5 separate regions of the Homo sapiens genome follow, and regions 2, 3, 4 and 5 are each linked to region 1. Evidence: promoter capture Hi-C in 16 types of primary human blood cells and fetal thymus (Javierre and others, 2016). All regions are on one chromosome and are shown on one strand. The core of a region is centred on a gene start or on the middle of the fragment in contact, and the rest is flanking DNA. Distances in the headings are between cores, read along the strand shown.

Region 1 (2,892 bases), core at 217-2,716:
ATTTAACTTAGGTAATACTAGAGTTGTGTTCTATCGCCTTGTCTACTGACAAACTTATTTTTTTTAAAGTTACAATTAGGAGAGTCCTAAAACAAAAGAATTCAAAATTCACAATACCATAAGGCAGCCTTCCTATTACTCTTTCTTCTCTGAGATCCTATTTCCCAACTATTACAATGACCACACCTAGTGATAAAACGACATAACATGTTAAACTGAGCATTGCGCTACTTAAAAATTGTGAATCTTGCTCCAAACTCATCATACTTGAAAAATACTAAATACAAGTGCTGTACGTTAGGTGATACGTTAACCTTTTAGTGGACAAATCATCGAAATTCAAAAAGAAAAGGAAGAAAAAGAAGAAAGGAGGGAACTGTTCCCTCTAAATGTTCAGTAAACACCCATGTGTGCGGAGATTGCAGGGGCCTTCCTTTTTAAGGACTTAATGTTTTTGCCTGGGGTGAAGTGTTGTTGGCACGTAATCAAAATACGTGACGAGTTACATGCGCTCTGCCAAACACCCCATTTTTTAAAGGATGTGACTCCAGAGTGACCCAAGAGCAACTGAAACGCAAGTTTTTTGGCACAGAAAGCCCACCTGGCGCCTAACACCCAAGCAGCTAAAGAAAGCGCTGGTGTTCTTGGGTTATCCTGGTCGAACAGGCTCAACGCGGGATTCTCGGTCAGATACAAACTGCTGACTTAGGAAACTAACCTGCAGCTGCTGAACTGCAGAGTGGGTGCACGTGGGGAGGAGTCCTGCGGGCCTCAGGATGGGGACTTCAAGCCAAGTTTGTTAAAGTGCCCGAGTGAGCGCCCCGCGGGAATCCAAAGGGGAGCGACTGGGCTGTCTCCCCTGGGTAGTTTTGTTGGATGGGCAGGTCCCCTTGCCCGTCGCCTCTTACCTCCTGGGAAGCCGCAAGGCGCCCCGAGGCGGCGAAGCTAAACACAAGGCAAGCCGGGCTGGTGCTTTCCAGAAACTCCCCAAGAACCTGCCGGTTGTCCTCGCTTTCCAAATACTGGCTCCATTTCTCCTCCGTGAACCCCAGCATCATCGCCAGGCGGCCGCCGAGGAAGCGCACCCGCGCGTCTTGGGCGAAACTCCGCGCTCTCCTGGCCGCCGCCTCCTCCTCGTTCTCCTCCTCCTCCTCGAGCTCCACAGCGCCCACTGCCTCCAGGCCGGCCCCCGAGGTTAGGCGAAGGGTCGGGGCTTCTCTGAAGTCTCGCGCCTCCCGGGCTGCCACCTGGGCTGCCATTGGGCAACCGTCCGAGGGAACGCGAGGCCGGCTGGCTCCTCACCCGAGACTCTGGGCCCCCCGAAGTGAGCGAGGACACCTCCGCAGGCGCCCACCCTCCTCCGCGGTCGCCGCGAGCGCAGACCCTAGTCTCCCACCTGCTGCTACTTAGCAGCCGCGCCACTGCGCACAGCTGTAGCCTCGCAGGCCGAAGCGAAGGCCTGGGACAAGCAGCGCGTCCCGTTTCCCGGGGGACGGTGTCCCCGCCCCAGCCCGCTGGGGGCGGAGTGAGCGCACCGCGCCACCGCCCAGTATACGCCAAGGCCAAGGCCGAGGGGAGAGGCCCTCGGGCTCTAGGTCCCGAACACGGCCGAGAAGCCGCGTGTCCGGGGTGGGTCTGAGCCCCCAGTGCGCTCGCTCCACTGCCCTCCGGCTCCTTCGCCTACTGGACACTTGGTGGAGATCCCAGCATTGGTTAAGTGCTCTGGATGAAGCAATGCTCTCTTGTGCCAAGGTCCGTGCTAATCTCTTACCTTGACTAGTTGACATAATCCGTAGAAAGCCAAGTCTCTGACTGGTCAGTCTTTGTTTTATGGGCAAGGAACTAAGTTACAAAAATAAGTAACAGAGAAGTTTCGGGGCCCAAGTTGAAGGCTGTTATTCACCTTTCCCAAGGTGTCCAAATATTACCAGAAGAGAGCCAGTCCTGCAATTCAACTTTCCTAGTTGTGGGAATCCAAGATCTAAGTATTCGAAGTCCTCCTGATTGCCATCCTCAACCTGAAACTTACTGGAACTTCAGTACACCCAGTAAGAGAACGCACAGTGCCCTTTCGTGATCTCCAAAATGTTCCGAAAATCTATAGATTTATCATTTAATTCAAGAGTAAAAAGGTCAAAGAGAAAAAGCTTCAGATTAAAAACAGTTTCATGATACTGAAATAGGATTTCACTGCGGTCCATTAGTGGCTTTCGTTGAGACTCTTATGGAAATTCTAATTATTAAAGCAACCAGAATTTTGAGGAGGAGTCCTCAACTAAACTTTTAAGTCTCCTTTGTTAATTGTTTATTTCAAACTAAAGTCTTCAATCCCCACCCCTTCCATGGGGGCTACTGAAGGACTGTTGCCCACAATAATCCATTTAATACCTGAATGTTGACAGACATTTCCAGAAGATGAGGCTTCAACAATTTTTTTCTTTGCAGGATATTAACTGCCCCTGAAAACCATCGACAAGTTTCCAGTTATGTGATCAGAATCTTGAAATAACACAGGGCCTTGGAAAACTTTGATAATGACTTCTAACCTGTCAAGGCTGCTTTATATTGTCCATAATAATCTTTGGGGCTCCCAGTTGCTGGTATACAAGGCTGGCAATCACCAGTTCCTTCTCTCCCCTCTTATATTCCAGCTTCACATCCCTGTAACCTAGAAAACCGGGAATTCTGTAAATAATAGTTGAATTAAATTGAAAGTGAATAACCACTTTCAAATCTAGCAGGAAAATTTTTTAAATGATGCTAACTTTAAAGTGCAATTTCCAAAAAGTTAACTATGTAACTCGAAATATAAGATGAAGATATGTCAAAGATTGATTTAACTCATAAATGAGGAAAGCAACAAAATGATGTAAGTTCCAAGGACAGTTCGAG
Region 2 (2,892 bases), core at 251-2,750, 470 kb before region 1:
TGCCCACCTCAGCCTCCCAAAGTGCTGGGATTACAGGCGTGAGCCACTGCACCCCAGCCCTGATTGATTGTTGAAAGTCAAATCCCAACCCCAAAAGTTACAGTAAATATCTTACTTTTCTACAAGCCCCCAGCACAAGCTGGTTTCTAAGCACCTACTTTATCGAGCTTAAGATGAGAGGCAAACACTGACCCAGCGACTACTAGGCACCTAATGGTTGTACATGGAGCAAGAGACCACCCTGACAATGTGTATCACATCCATCAGCACATTGTCTTCCCTTCATCCTCCATCCTCAATCCTATACTTTCCTGTTTCCTGAGTAACCTTCCTCCCACATATTTGCTTCTTCCACAGCTTCTTCAACTGCTCTTTCCTAACTGCTTCCTTTCTGCTTCTCAACATGTTGCAAAAAAAGTCTTTTTTTTTTTTTAACCAAAACAACCACAAAAGCCAACCAACCAACTGACTAAATAAACCAAAAGACATCATAAGCTTGCCCTTAGGACTCTGAATTCCTGGAAACCTCGGCAGGTCCAGTCCATCACAAAATAGGCCTACCCTCCTAGTGGTGAGATATGTATACAGTCAGGTCCAGAGGAGGCCGTACACTTTTCTTGACTGAACCTTTCAGCCCAGAAAAGCCCACTTTCCATGAGTGTCCAAGAATCCCCTTGCCCTGAGTCTCCATTATCCCTTTACCTCCCATGTGGGTGCAGCAAACATCCCCTTTCTTGCACTTGGATCCATGCAGCAACCCCCATTTGTCCTAGGTTGTCAAATTCTTCCATTAGAACACCTTCAGTACCAACAGCCCTCCCACTGCTCATCACATAGCTTTGATGTGTGTCCTTGCCAAAAAGCCCCATCCTACAAAGCTGGATGCTAGGGAGGGATAATAGCGGGTTCACCTGATCCAACTGCCCCTTCTGGCCAATACTACCCTTTGCCCCTGCCTTCCTGGGGTCATGCTCCAGCACCCTTCTGAGTGTATAGTTTCCTTGGCTTCCCTTTTGTCTGACTCCCTGGGCACCCCTTCCACATCTGCTCCAGGGCTCTCAGTCATCCCTTCTTCCTCACCCCCTAAACATTTCCAGTGCTTGTGACTTTAAAAATTCCCCTTTCTTCTCCCCATAAAAACTTCCATTCCCATTTCCTTGGAGAGGCTGATCTCAGCTACATATTTCACCTAAAAGGGAGATTCTGTGTGCTTTATGGCACAGAAATGGCTAAGCTGCAAATTCTAACTATTCATATTTAATAGCTTCTGCCTGGTATGCTAGGTTCAGAGTGCTTATGGACTGTGACTTCGCCCAGACTCAAACCAGCTTGTCAGGGAATCATCAGATTCAGTCACCTCTCCAAAAGAACAAGGTGCCAACATTTTTCTTTGGCATTGTGTTTAGTGGGCATCTGGTCTTAGCATTGCTAAGTACCCAATTTCACCAAGCCAGTCATGCGTTCCCACATCATCCACTAAAGCCAGAAGTGAAGCAGGAGAATGCTATGTTATAGTATGCACTTGTGTGCGTGTGTAGGAAAACACACACACACACACACACACACACACACAGAGCTACTGCGGGAAACTAACTCAGTTTGGGAGTCTTATTGCAACATGGAGGAAATGCAGCAAGGTCACATTAAGGTTTTTAAAAATACATGATACGTTTTCATTCTTTCCTACTATAACTGCAAAGTGCAAAAGCTACAGTTCTGTATTTTAATTTATTAACTATGCTGTGTCCTTAAATCTCCATTTACTTTTCATTCTTGGCACCGACTCCACTTTTGTGAGTGCACTTGTGACCACCTCTTGCTCAGGTGGTAGATACACCATAAAGTTGTGGCAACAGAGGCCTTGTCATCTTGCGGTCATCATCACCACGATTTGGGAGTGCCATGGTGGGACACGATTGAAGAGCTTCAGCACCAGGCGGTGTGAGGTGAGGGTGTCATCCTAAAGGGGCTACAACTACATGAAATGATAACTAAAATCTCGTAGTAGTATAGAAGTGACATGGTAAATAGGCGCAAAACCATGAACAAATACATGTGGATCAGAGCAGAGAGACAGAGAGGCAGAAAGGACTTCAGGGTTGAGTATGAAGGTATTAAACCTGGTGGGTTATTAACACATCTAAATAAATAAGCTGTTGATCAAAAAGGAGAGAGGTCAACAAAGAGGACACAACCCAGGAAGAGTTTGAAGACAATGTCTGGCAGGGTCCGTTGGAGCACTGCCCAAGACAGAAACCAGTGTGATTGCCCATCTAGTGCGAGGATGGAAGAGCGGGCCAGCAGAGACACGCCATTATGTACTCAGAGCTTCTCATTCTTTGCTTACCATGCAACCGCCTGGTAATTTGGCCCCCCCATGCTGCTTATGATATAACGTGGAACAATTGTACTAACAACCCTTCCATCCAGTCTCTTTGGAAGTAATATTTTTTATAATAATTTTTATTGCATTCTTATTTTATACATCACTCTCTTGTAAGCTTTTTAATGTGAGTCAGCCTCCCTAACAGTGATCAATTCTGGGACTTTGTAAAGGTCAGAGCCCTCTGAACTTCCACAGTTGAAGGCCAAACTTTATACCCAGAGCAGAGATTGCTATTTGTTTCTTAAAATATATTTCTCCTTCTTCTGTTACTAACTGTACTTCTAAATTTTAGCTGGCTACACGGCCCCAAATAATAAAAACCATATTTCCAAGCTTCACTGCTCTATGTGGCCATATGACTAGGTTCTGGCAGAAGAAATACAAGTGGAAGTGATGTGTACAACATCCAGTTCATGTCCTTAAAAGGAAATAATGTGCCCATGTCCTCTCCTTGTCCTTTTTCTCTTTCCTACTTGCTGGAATGTTGACAGGTAGACTCAGATGAG
Region 3 (2,892 bases), core at 220-2,719, 310 kb after region 1:
AACCAACCCAAATGTCCATCAATGATAGACTGGATTAAGAAAATGTGGCACATATACACCATGGAATACTATGCAGCCATAAAAAATGATGAGTTCATATCCTTTGTAGGGACATGGATGAAGCTGGAAACCATCATTCTCAGCAAACTATCGCAGGGACAAAAAACCAAACACTTCATGTTCTCACTCATAGGTGGGAATTGAACAATGAGAACACTTGGACACAGGAAGGGGAACATCACACACCGGGGACTGTTGTGGGGTGAGGAGAGAGGGGAGGGATAGCATTAGGAGATATACCTAATGTAAACGACGAGTTAATGGGTGCAGCACACCAACATGGCACATGTATACGTATGTAACAAATTTGCACATTGCGCACATGTACCCTAGAACTTAAAATATATATATATATATAAAAAAGATATGCATTACCTTACATACTTTTTTTGTGTGTGGTGAGAACATCTAATATCTGCTCTTAGCAATGTTCAAGAATAGGATATATTGTTATTAACCATAGTCACAATATTGTATAATGGAGCTCTTGAACTTATTCCTACTATCTAACTGAAATTTTGTATCCTTTGACCAACATCTGCTGCCTTTTTTCAGTCAAAAGCAAGTCATAAATTGGCCAGGTGTGGTGGCTCACGCCTGTAATCCCAGCACTTTGGGAGGCTGAAGCAGGTGGATCACTTGAGGCCAAGAGTTTGAGACCAGCCTGGCCAACACAGTGAAACCCTCTCTCTACAAAAAATACAAAAAAAATTAGCCAGGTATGCTGGTGTATGCCTGTAGTCCCAGCTACTTGGGGGGCTGAGGCATGTGGATCGCTTGGACCCCGGAGGTCAAGGCTACAGTGAGCCAAGATGGCACCACTGCACTCAAGCCTGGGGAACAAAGTGAGACCCTGTCTCAAAAAAAAAAAAAAAAAAAAAAGCAAGTCATAACAAGTCATAACTTGAGTCCAGTTGGAGAAGGACTGGGGAAATAGACTCCACCTCTTGGTGGGAGAGAAATGGCAAAGAATTTGTGGGCATCTTCAATCTACCACAGTAGTTATATTTAAAAATTTGAATTTATGTACCTAAAAACAAAACAAAACAAAATAAAGAAAAAATTCCTTTCTATATTATGGTTGTCTGTAAGGACCACATGCTGTTTTTGGTTTCTTTAACCAAATTGTCTTTCCATGAGACTGAGGGTGATGGGATATGGAAAGGTGGTAAGTTGTTTAAGCTTCTTGATAAAAGTGCTGTCTTTGTTTTCTGTTTTCTGATATTTATACAATTATTCCTCTATTAGTGGCTTTTATAATTATTGGGAGTGGGAAAATCTTGAATAAACTGTATAGTAGTCTGGGTATATTAAATTTATCGTATTCTGAGACCTGTATTTCTTTACTTCTTTAACTCAATAAATATTTATTGAATTAGTTAAAAAATTTCTTTAATTCTTGAGGTAGTAACAAACACCGGGAGGCGGAGGTTGCAGTGAGCAGGGATCGCGCCACTGCACTCCATCCTGGCGACAGAGCGAGCTGGGTCTCATAAAAACAAAAAACAATGACCAAGATCCACTCTTTTTAGAAAGGACACACAGTGATTTATGCTTTAAATCCTTGCCTGACTGAAACTCTTGGGACAGGCGTTAATATCCAGATTTTATGTGGAACTGTTGTTTCTCAAGCTTTTAAAAACATTCTATAGCTTTCACCCTTTAAAAAAAAATATATTTCCATAGGTTATTGGAGAACAGGTGGTGTTTGGTTACATGAGTAAGTTCTTTAGTGGTGATTTGTGAGATTTTGGTGCACCCATCACCCGAGCAGTATACACTGCACCCTATTTGTCGTCTTTTTTTCCTCACCCCCTTCCCACACTTTCCCTTGGAATCACCAAAGTCCACTGTGTTATTCTTATGCCTTTGCATCCTCATAGCTTAGCTCTCACTAAAAGAATGAGAACATATGATGTTTGGTTTTCCATTCCTGAGTAACTTCACTTAGAATAATAGTCTCCAATCTCATCCAGGTGACTGCCAATGCCATTAATTCATTCCTTTTTATGGCTGAGTAGTATTCCATTGTATATATATACCACTTTTTCTTTTTTCTTTTTCTTTTTTTTTTTTTTTTTGAGACGGAGTTTCACTCTTACTGCCTAGGCTGGAGTGCAATGGCACGATCTCAGCTCACCGCAACCTCTGCCTCCCAGGTTCAAGCAATTCTCCTGTCTCACCCTCCCGAGTAGCTGGGATCACAGGCATGCACCACCACGCCCAGCTTATTTTGTATTTTTAGTAGAGAAGGGGTTTCTCCATTTTGAGGCTGGTCTCGAACTCCTGACCTCAGGTGATCCACCCACCTCGGCCTCTCAAAGTGCCGGGATTACAGGCGTGAGCCACCATGCCCGGCCTATATATACCACATTTTCTTTATCCACTTGTTGATTGATGAGCATTTGAGCTGGTTTCACATTTTTGCAGTCGTGAATTCTGTAGCTTTCACACTTTAGTTTTTTTTTCAATTAGTGTTGAAAAAGTGAAATTGGGACACTCTGATTGTTGTTTCTTTCTGATTTATAATTATATTATCCCCCTTTGTTCTTGAATTTAAGTTTTGAAAAATATGACTGTTAATTTAAATGTAGGTCCTTTTAATTAATTTTGCCTGGATCCAGGTGAGTCATTTCAAGTCATGATTTTTCTTCCAGAAACTTTCCTTCTTCTATTATATCCTTTACTATTGCTTCATTCATTATTACTCTGGTTTCTGGCTTTGGAAAATTATTTATGTCTGCTGTCAAATCTGTCTTTCATATTTTTTCTCATCTCTTTTACCTCCGCATTTTTAACTCTGCTTCTGGGAGAGTATCTGAAGTGCATCCT
Region 4 (2,892 bases), core at 274-2,773, 290 kb after region 1:
AAACAGAAATATACTGTATTTCCTAAGTACTATGTCTTTCAGTGGCACATAAACTGGGCTGATTATTAAATTCTACATTAAATTATCTGTATACATCTTTATGAACATATTATCTTATATGTGAAATAGCTAACAAAGATCAGTGTCTAGATTTTTGTGGATTATGATATATATTCTTAATAATCAGCATTTCATGAATGCAGAGAGAAGTGATATTTACAATGATGTTTCTCATACAATGAAGAAAAGACCCTATGTTGATTTCCAGATTAACATTTCTTTAATTTCTTAAAGAAAGATGTATATCTTTAAGAACAAGTAAGCAACCAACACTCAGAAAATGCAAGCTATCTAACCAGAGAGAGCTTTGCATGATGGCATTTTCCCTGATCGCTGCTGCCCATGCCTCTGTGGACTTTGTTCCTCTATGTTTGTCATCGTGGAGTGCAACTTGTGTGATGTCATTGACACAGCCAGGAAAAAATACCAGTCCCTATTAGCATCCAGAGCTGGCAAAACAAAGTGACTTCTCAAAGAATAGTACAAAACCATTTTAAAGCAGATCTCCTGAAATTTACTAAGCTTCAATCACATCAAGGTTTCTGAAGTTATGACACAGGCTTTAAATGTGTTCATAAAAGTAGCTGATTCTATTCTCTTTTCTGCCAGCAGAGATCACATTTCTCAGCCCTATCTTACTCTCTCCTTATGTTAAAGAAAAATAAGACCAGATTTTTGCGTATAGAAGATCCTGTGAGGAGTTTCAGCTTCCAGCACCAGGAGGCCCCTATGTTAATGTGAGGGGTTGTTTTTGTTGTTGTATATGTGTTTGATTTTTATTTATCTTTTTGTTTTGGCTTGTCACTTGTCTGGGAACTAAAATCAGGCAGCAGCATTAGGAAGTAAACCCTTGTAGGGAACTATATTTTCCCCCTACTACTTGACTCTGCAGTTTTCATGGGGGTGCCGGGAGGCAGGGCAGGGGTGGGGGCGCATGTGGGGTGGGCTGGGGAACTGTTTATCTCTTAAAGCACCTAAATGTGTCTTAAAGTAGAAATGTCTAAATACTAGTTAAACCTCGCATTATCTCTTCACTATTTCTCATTTGTGATGTGAACAGAAAACCACAGTTTAAAGAATAACGTCTTTACCAGGGAAACGTTCAACGATGTGGTACAATTGCAAGAGTCCTAACACTTTGAGAGTTATAATTTAAAAAATATTTTAACTAACACTAGCATTGCATGATCCCAAAGCAGAAAATGAGAAGGACAAGTGTGCAGTTAATGTTTATTTTTCCAGTACATTGAAAGATAATTCAGATGTTTTCTATGAAACCCCAGGCAGTGAGAATATTCAGTTCACAATTCTAATGTTGCAGAGGAGACAGATGCATTTTTTTCTCCTATGGTTTGTAACTCCAGCTACATTTAATAGGAACTGTGCATCAAGGTGTGGGAGAAAAAGCAGACTCCTGTTCTGTAGCTTTGAGAATTACCGACTATTCAGAATCTCCCTGACACCTGGATACAGTGGGGCAGGTTAAAAATGTTGCTTCCTGTGAATTCGAGGCTTTTGCTTTTTTCAACATTCGAGGCAGGCTTCTCATATACAAAAAGTACTTCAAAGGTATGCAATGTATTTTTTTGCTTGTTTGTTTGTTTAGGTTTGCAGTTCTCTCTTGCACTGAAATAGATTTAGTAAGCCAGTGTTGATTACCTTGATGTGGCCTGTTTAATAGCGGCAGATTCTGTTTTGCCACTGGTGGCAAACAATTTAATTAGGAACACAAAATAGCTGCCTGTTTTATTTCCCCCCTGCAAGTGTCTGCTCCTTGTCTAAGAATAAGAAACTACCACTGTAAAAATCTCTTCCTTTGAGCTGTCTCTAATGAAACTTCGCGATTCCACTTGTTTCTCTAGCTTTCTCTGCAACAATTTATTCTTTCTTTCTAAACAGTCCTTTAGGTATGCGAGGCCATTTGTAAATTACATAGTGTTCATAATATCATGAAATATCATGACTGCAGTTTATGGGCAGATGAAGGGGGATGAGTTGTAACAAGCATAGATGACACAAAATACATTGGGAGAGGAGTGAGGGGACACTGGTGCCAGCACAATTATTAAACTTTGAGTGGTACTTAATGAAGACACTAAATTAAGTGACCTTACCAATGGAGAGAGATAGCAAATGGGATTCTTAGGGAATTATCTTCCATTATCTTACAAAGAAATGAGGGGACACATTATCACAGACCAAGATGAAGAAAGTACGGATGAGCTGAATATTAGCAAATAAAGCAGTTTTGCTGAAAAAACAATGATCCCTTTAGAGTTGTCCTGAATGTGGTATATAAAATCACACGCTGTTGAAAAGAATATAATTTATGGTTTGGGGAGACACATTTTATACCGAGTTTTGCCTTTTTACAAACGTGTCTGGCCTAAGGCAAAAAAGCTTTTATTGTTTCTGCGATTAGTATAAAGTTCTGAAGAACACTGAGAACTAGAAAACCAGTAACATGCTATAGATTTCTCTCTCTGCCTTACTTAATCTGTCTGTGAAATGGGGTGGTAAATTCTCACTAACCTTTAGAAACTAAGTGAGGAATTATGAATACATGGTTGGATATATATCGGAGAAGATAGGCATACGTATGTATATATGTATATTTGCTCCCAGATGCCTTTCTATTGCAGTAGAATTAATATAGAGTAAATGACCAAATTTTACATGTATAGCTCAATGAGTTTTTGCATATGGATACACCCTTTTGACTACTACCCACATCAATATTTTCATTGCCTGGGAAAGGTCCCTCCTGCCCCTGTTCACTCCTCCAGAGCGAGTCACTCTACTAACTTCTGTCACATTAGATCAGTTTTTAAT
Region 5 (2,892 bases), core at 115-2,614, 260 kb after region 1:
ACATGCTGGATCTATGATCAGACAGAAGTTAAACATAACCACATGTGGGCTGGAAAGGGGGTAGGGGTGACAATCATCTCTGAGGCAGCTGGAGAGAAAAAGAAAAGCAGTCCCTAACATGGGGAACCGGCCTGACTCTCACAGCTGTGTCTCTGTGACCTGGCATTCACAGCTAGACGTGTTGTTCTCAGGTCTCTCGGAATTCTAACATCAGATAGGATCACTCTTTGAGTGTGAAGAAGTGACACCAAACAAGCAACAAAACAAAAAAAAACTTTATACTCTTATCTAAGCACAGATGAAAACACTGTATTCATCATTACTGGTTCACTGTGTAAACCATAAAATACCAAACCTCCCCTCTCCCAGCTAATATGAGTGAGGGGTGCTTGTCAATTACAGACTTGGCCTCATTTTTAGTCTTCCCTTATTCTAGATATGATTTAAGATACCCAATCATAGAGTTACCCTGCACTTCCTGAGAGCATCCAATCCAGAGCAAAGCCCTGCTTCCTTGGTCCCTCCCTCAAATTACCTAACACCCATTCAAATGCCATAAATGTCCTTTCTAACACTCTCTGAGATGCCCCACAGTTCCTTATGGGCATGCATTATCCATTTGCAAGAACAAGTAATTCAGCTTGCCCAGCTCTAGGTTTGTTCCTGGTAGACTTTGGCTGGAGAGCATGGACCTTAGTATGGGAACTCTGCTTCATAGTTGACTGAGCCAATCAAGCCATTCCTTTTTGGGAACATGAAATGCTAGGTGGGCAAAGATAAAAAGTGAGGGACTCAAATTCAGGTGATGATCCAGATGCTTGAAGAGAGTTGAATTTTGCAATGTTGAGAATTCTAGTACCAGAGTGAATGTAGGGTCAAAGAAAAGACATCATATGCTACCTCAGATTTTCATGGATTATCGAAAAAAACCCTCAGGGTTTCAGATATCTTATGCCTATAGAGAATCTAAAACTGAAAAGAAGAAGCAATTGCTGACTACCTTGGATATTTGGACTGAAACTCTGGCTTTTTTTTTCATATATTTGAAAAAGATTTCCAGAGTATGCATGGTGTTCCGAGCATTTTTCCAGGAAGTGCAGATATAGCAGCAAACTAAACATACAAGCTTCCCCTTTGTTCTCTTGGATTTGCAGTCATGTCCTGCTTAACAACAGGGATATAGTCTGAGAAATGTGTCAGTTGTTAGGTGATTTCATCAGTGTGTGAACATCATAGAGCGTAGTTACACAAGCTTACAGCATATGGTCTAATACACACCTACGCAAAATGGCACAGCCTATTGCTCCTAGGTTACCAACCTGTACGGCATGTTACTGAACTGAATACTGTAGGCAACTGTAACACAATGGTAAACATTTATGTATCTAAACATAGAAAAGATACGGTCAAAACATGACATAAAAGATAAAAATGGTACACCTGTACAAGAGGCCACTTAGCATGAATGAAGCTTGCAGGACCATAAGTTGCTCTGGGTAAGTCAGTGAGTGAGTAGTGAGTAAATGTGAAGGACTGTAAACTTTATTAACGCTATACATTTAGGCTACCCTAAATGTATAAAATATTTTTCTTCCTTTAACAGTAAATTAACTTTAGCTTACTATAACATTTTAACTTTATAAGCTTTTTAATTTTTTAAATTTTTTTATTCTTTTGTAATAACACTTAGATGAGAACACAAGCACATTGTACAGCTGTACAAAAATATTTTCTTTCTTTATATCCTTATTCTATATGCTTTCTCCTATTTTTAAAATGCATTTATTTTACTTTCTAAACGTTTTTTGCTAAAAACAAGATGGAACACATTAGTCTAGGCTTACACAAGGTCAGGATCATCAATATCACTGTCTTCCCCCTTCACAACTTGTCCAACTTGAAGGTCTTCACAGGCAATAACAGGCATGGAGCTGTCATGTCTTAAGATAACAATGCCTTCTTCTAGACTACCTCATGAGGGACCCGTGTGAGGCTCTTCTTGAGGAAGTTTCACTCTTTTCAGAAATATGGCCATGATGATTTGCTTGGTTTGTTTCATTTTTTCATTACAGATTTGCTTGCAAGCAGATAATGCACCATGAGCAACCCTCTATTAATGAAAACACTTTGGAGTTGGGATCCATGTTTTTAAACTTTTTAAGAAGCTGTTAAGAAGCTTGGTGAGGCCTGCAAAAGCTTCTGCTAAACCCTTCACTGTGAATCTTCTTGGGGGTTCTTCTTTTTTCTTCTCTTGCAGTTTCCTTGTCTCTTGCCTCTTCTTCAGCTGTGGGTTTCTGTTCCAGTTCCAACAACTCCTCATTAGCTAATTCCTCAGAAGCCACCTGCAGCAAAGCCCCAATATCATCCTCATCCACACCCATCTCCAACCACAGCCTCACTGATTTTGCAATATCCTCATCTTTGGCAAATCCTTTGAAGCAACTGATGAATGTTGAGTGTCTCCTCCCAGATGCCATTCAAACACTAATTGGTGACATTACCCCTATTCCAAGCAAGGCTCTTAACATAGCTATAGATGATGTAATCCTTCCAGAATTGCATCAGTGTCTTCTCAGTGTCTTCCTCAGTTTCACCATAGGCTGGGCAAGGACCCAACTCAGGGAGTAGGCCTTAAAAGCAGCTATAAGTTCTTGATGCATTCATTGGATCAAAGAGGTGGTGTTTGTAGGAAGAAACACCACTTTAATATTGGAATGAAGATTGCCAATGAAAGAAGGATGTGCAGGAGGATTATCAATAATAAGCAATATCTTGAACGGTATGTTATTCTCCAAAGAGTTCTCCATTTCGCTGGCATAGCCATTCAGGGGGACATCTTGGAAGAGGAGCTGGGTCATCTATGACTTCTTATTCTCCTGTAGTACACTGGAA

Evidence for each region. Contacts are between HindIII fragments. The CHiCAGO score rates a contact against its expected background, and 5 or more counts as called.
Region 2: a fragment that was not itself captured here is called in contact with the fragment with the promoter of DNAH11 in region 1 in 1 of 17 cell types (naive B cells); the score reaches 7.2 in naive B cells.
Region 3: a contact is called between a fragment that was not itself captured here and the fragment with the promoter of DNAH11 in region 1, in 1 of 17 cell types (total CD8 T cells). The highest score is 5.9, in total CD8 T cells.
Region 4: a fragment that was not itself captured here is called in contact with the fragment with the promoter of DNAH11 in region 1 in 4 of 17 cell types (non-activated CD4 T cells, erythroblasts, fetal thymus and 1 more); the score reaches 6.4 in non-activated CD4 T cells.
Region 5: a fragment that was not itself captured here is called in contact with the fragment with the promoter of DNAH11 in region 1 in 1 of 17 cell types (activated CD4 T cells); the score reaches 5.7 in activated CD4 T cells.

The regions. Positions count from the first base shown.
Region 1 is chr7:21,541,613-21,544,504 of GRCh38, reverse strand. DNAH11 (dynein axonemal heavy chain 11) reads right to left here and starts at 1,466. Exons shown (of 82, transcript NM_001277115.2): 1 at 909-1,466. The coding sequence starts at 1,259. RefSeq lists a silencer at 1,545-1,594 and an enhancer at 1,643-2,144. The HindIII fragment of the contact is 2,819 bases long and covers 1-2,149 here.
Region 2 is chr7:22,012,405-22,015,296 of GRCh38, reverse strand. No RefSeq gene overlaps it. Among named protein-coding and RNA genes, the nearest start is that of CDCA7L, 68 kb to the right of the region's middle. The HindIII fragment of the contact is 2,006 bases long and covers 498-2,503 here.
Region 3 is chr7:21,229,573-21,232,464 of GRCh38, reverse strand. No RefSeq gene overlaps it. Among named protein-coding and RNA genes, the nearest start is that of SP4, 200 kb to the left of the region's middle. The HindIII fragment of the contact is 450 bases long and covers 1,245-1,694 here.
Region 4 is chr7:21,249,148-21,252,039 of GRCh38, reverse strand. No RefSeq gene overlaps it. Among named protein-coding and RNA genes, the nearest start is that of SP4, 180 kb to the left of the region's middle. The HindIII fragment of the contact is 1,878 bases long and covers 585-2,462 here.
Region 5 is chr7:21,280,923-21,283,814 of GRCh38, reverse strand. No RefSeq gene overlaps it. Among named protein-coding and RNA genes, the nearest start is that of SP4, 150 kb to the left of the region's middle. RefSeq lists an enhancer at 2,201-2,702. The HindIII fragment of the contact is 219 bases long and covers 1,255-1,473 here.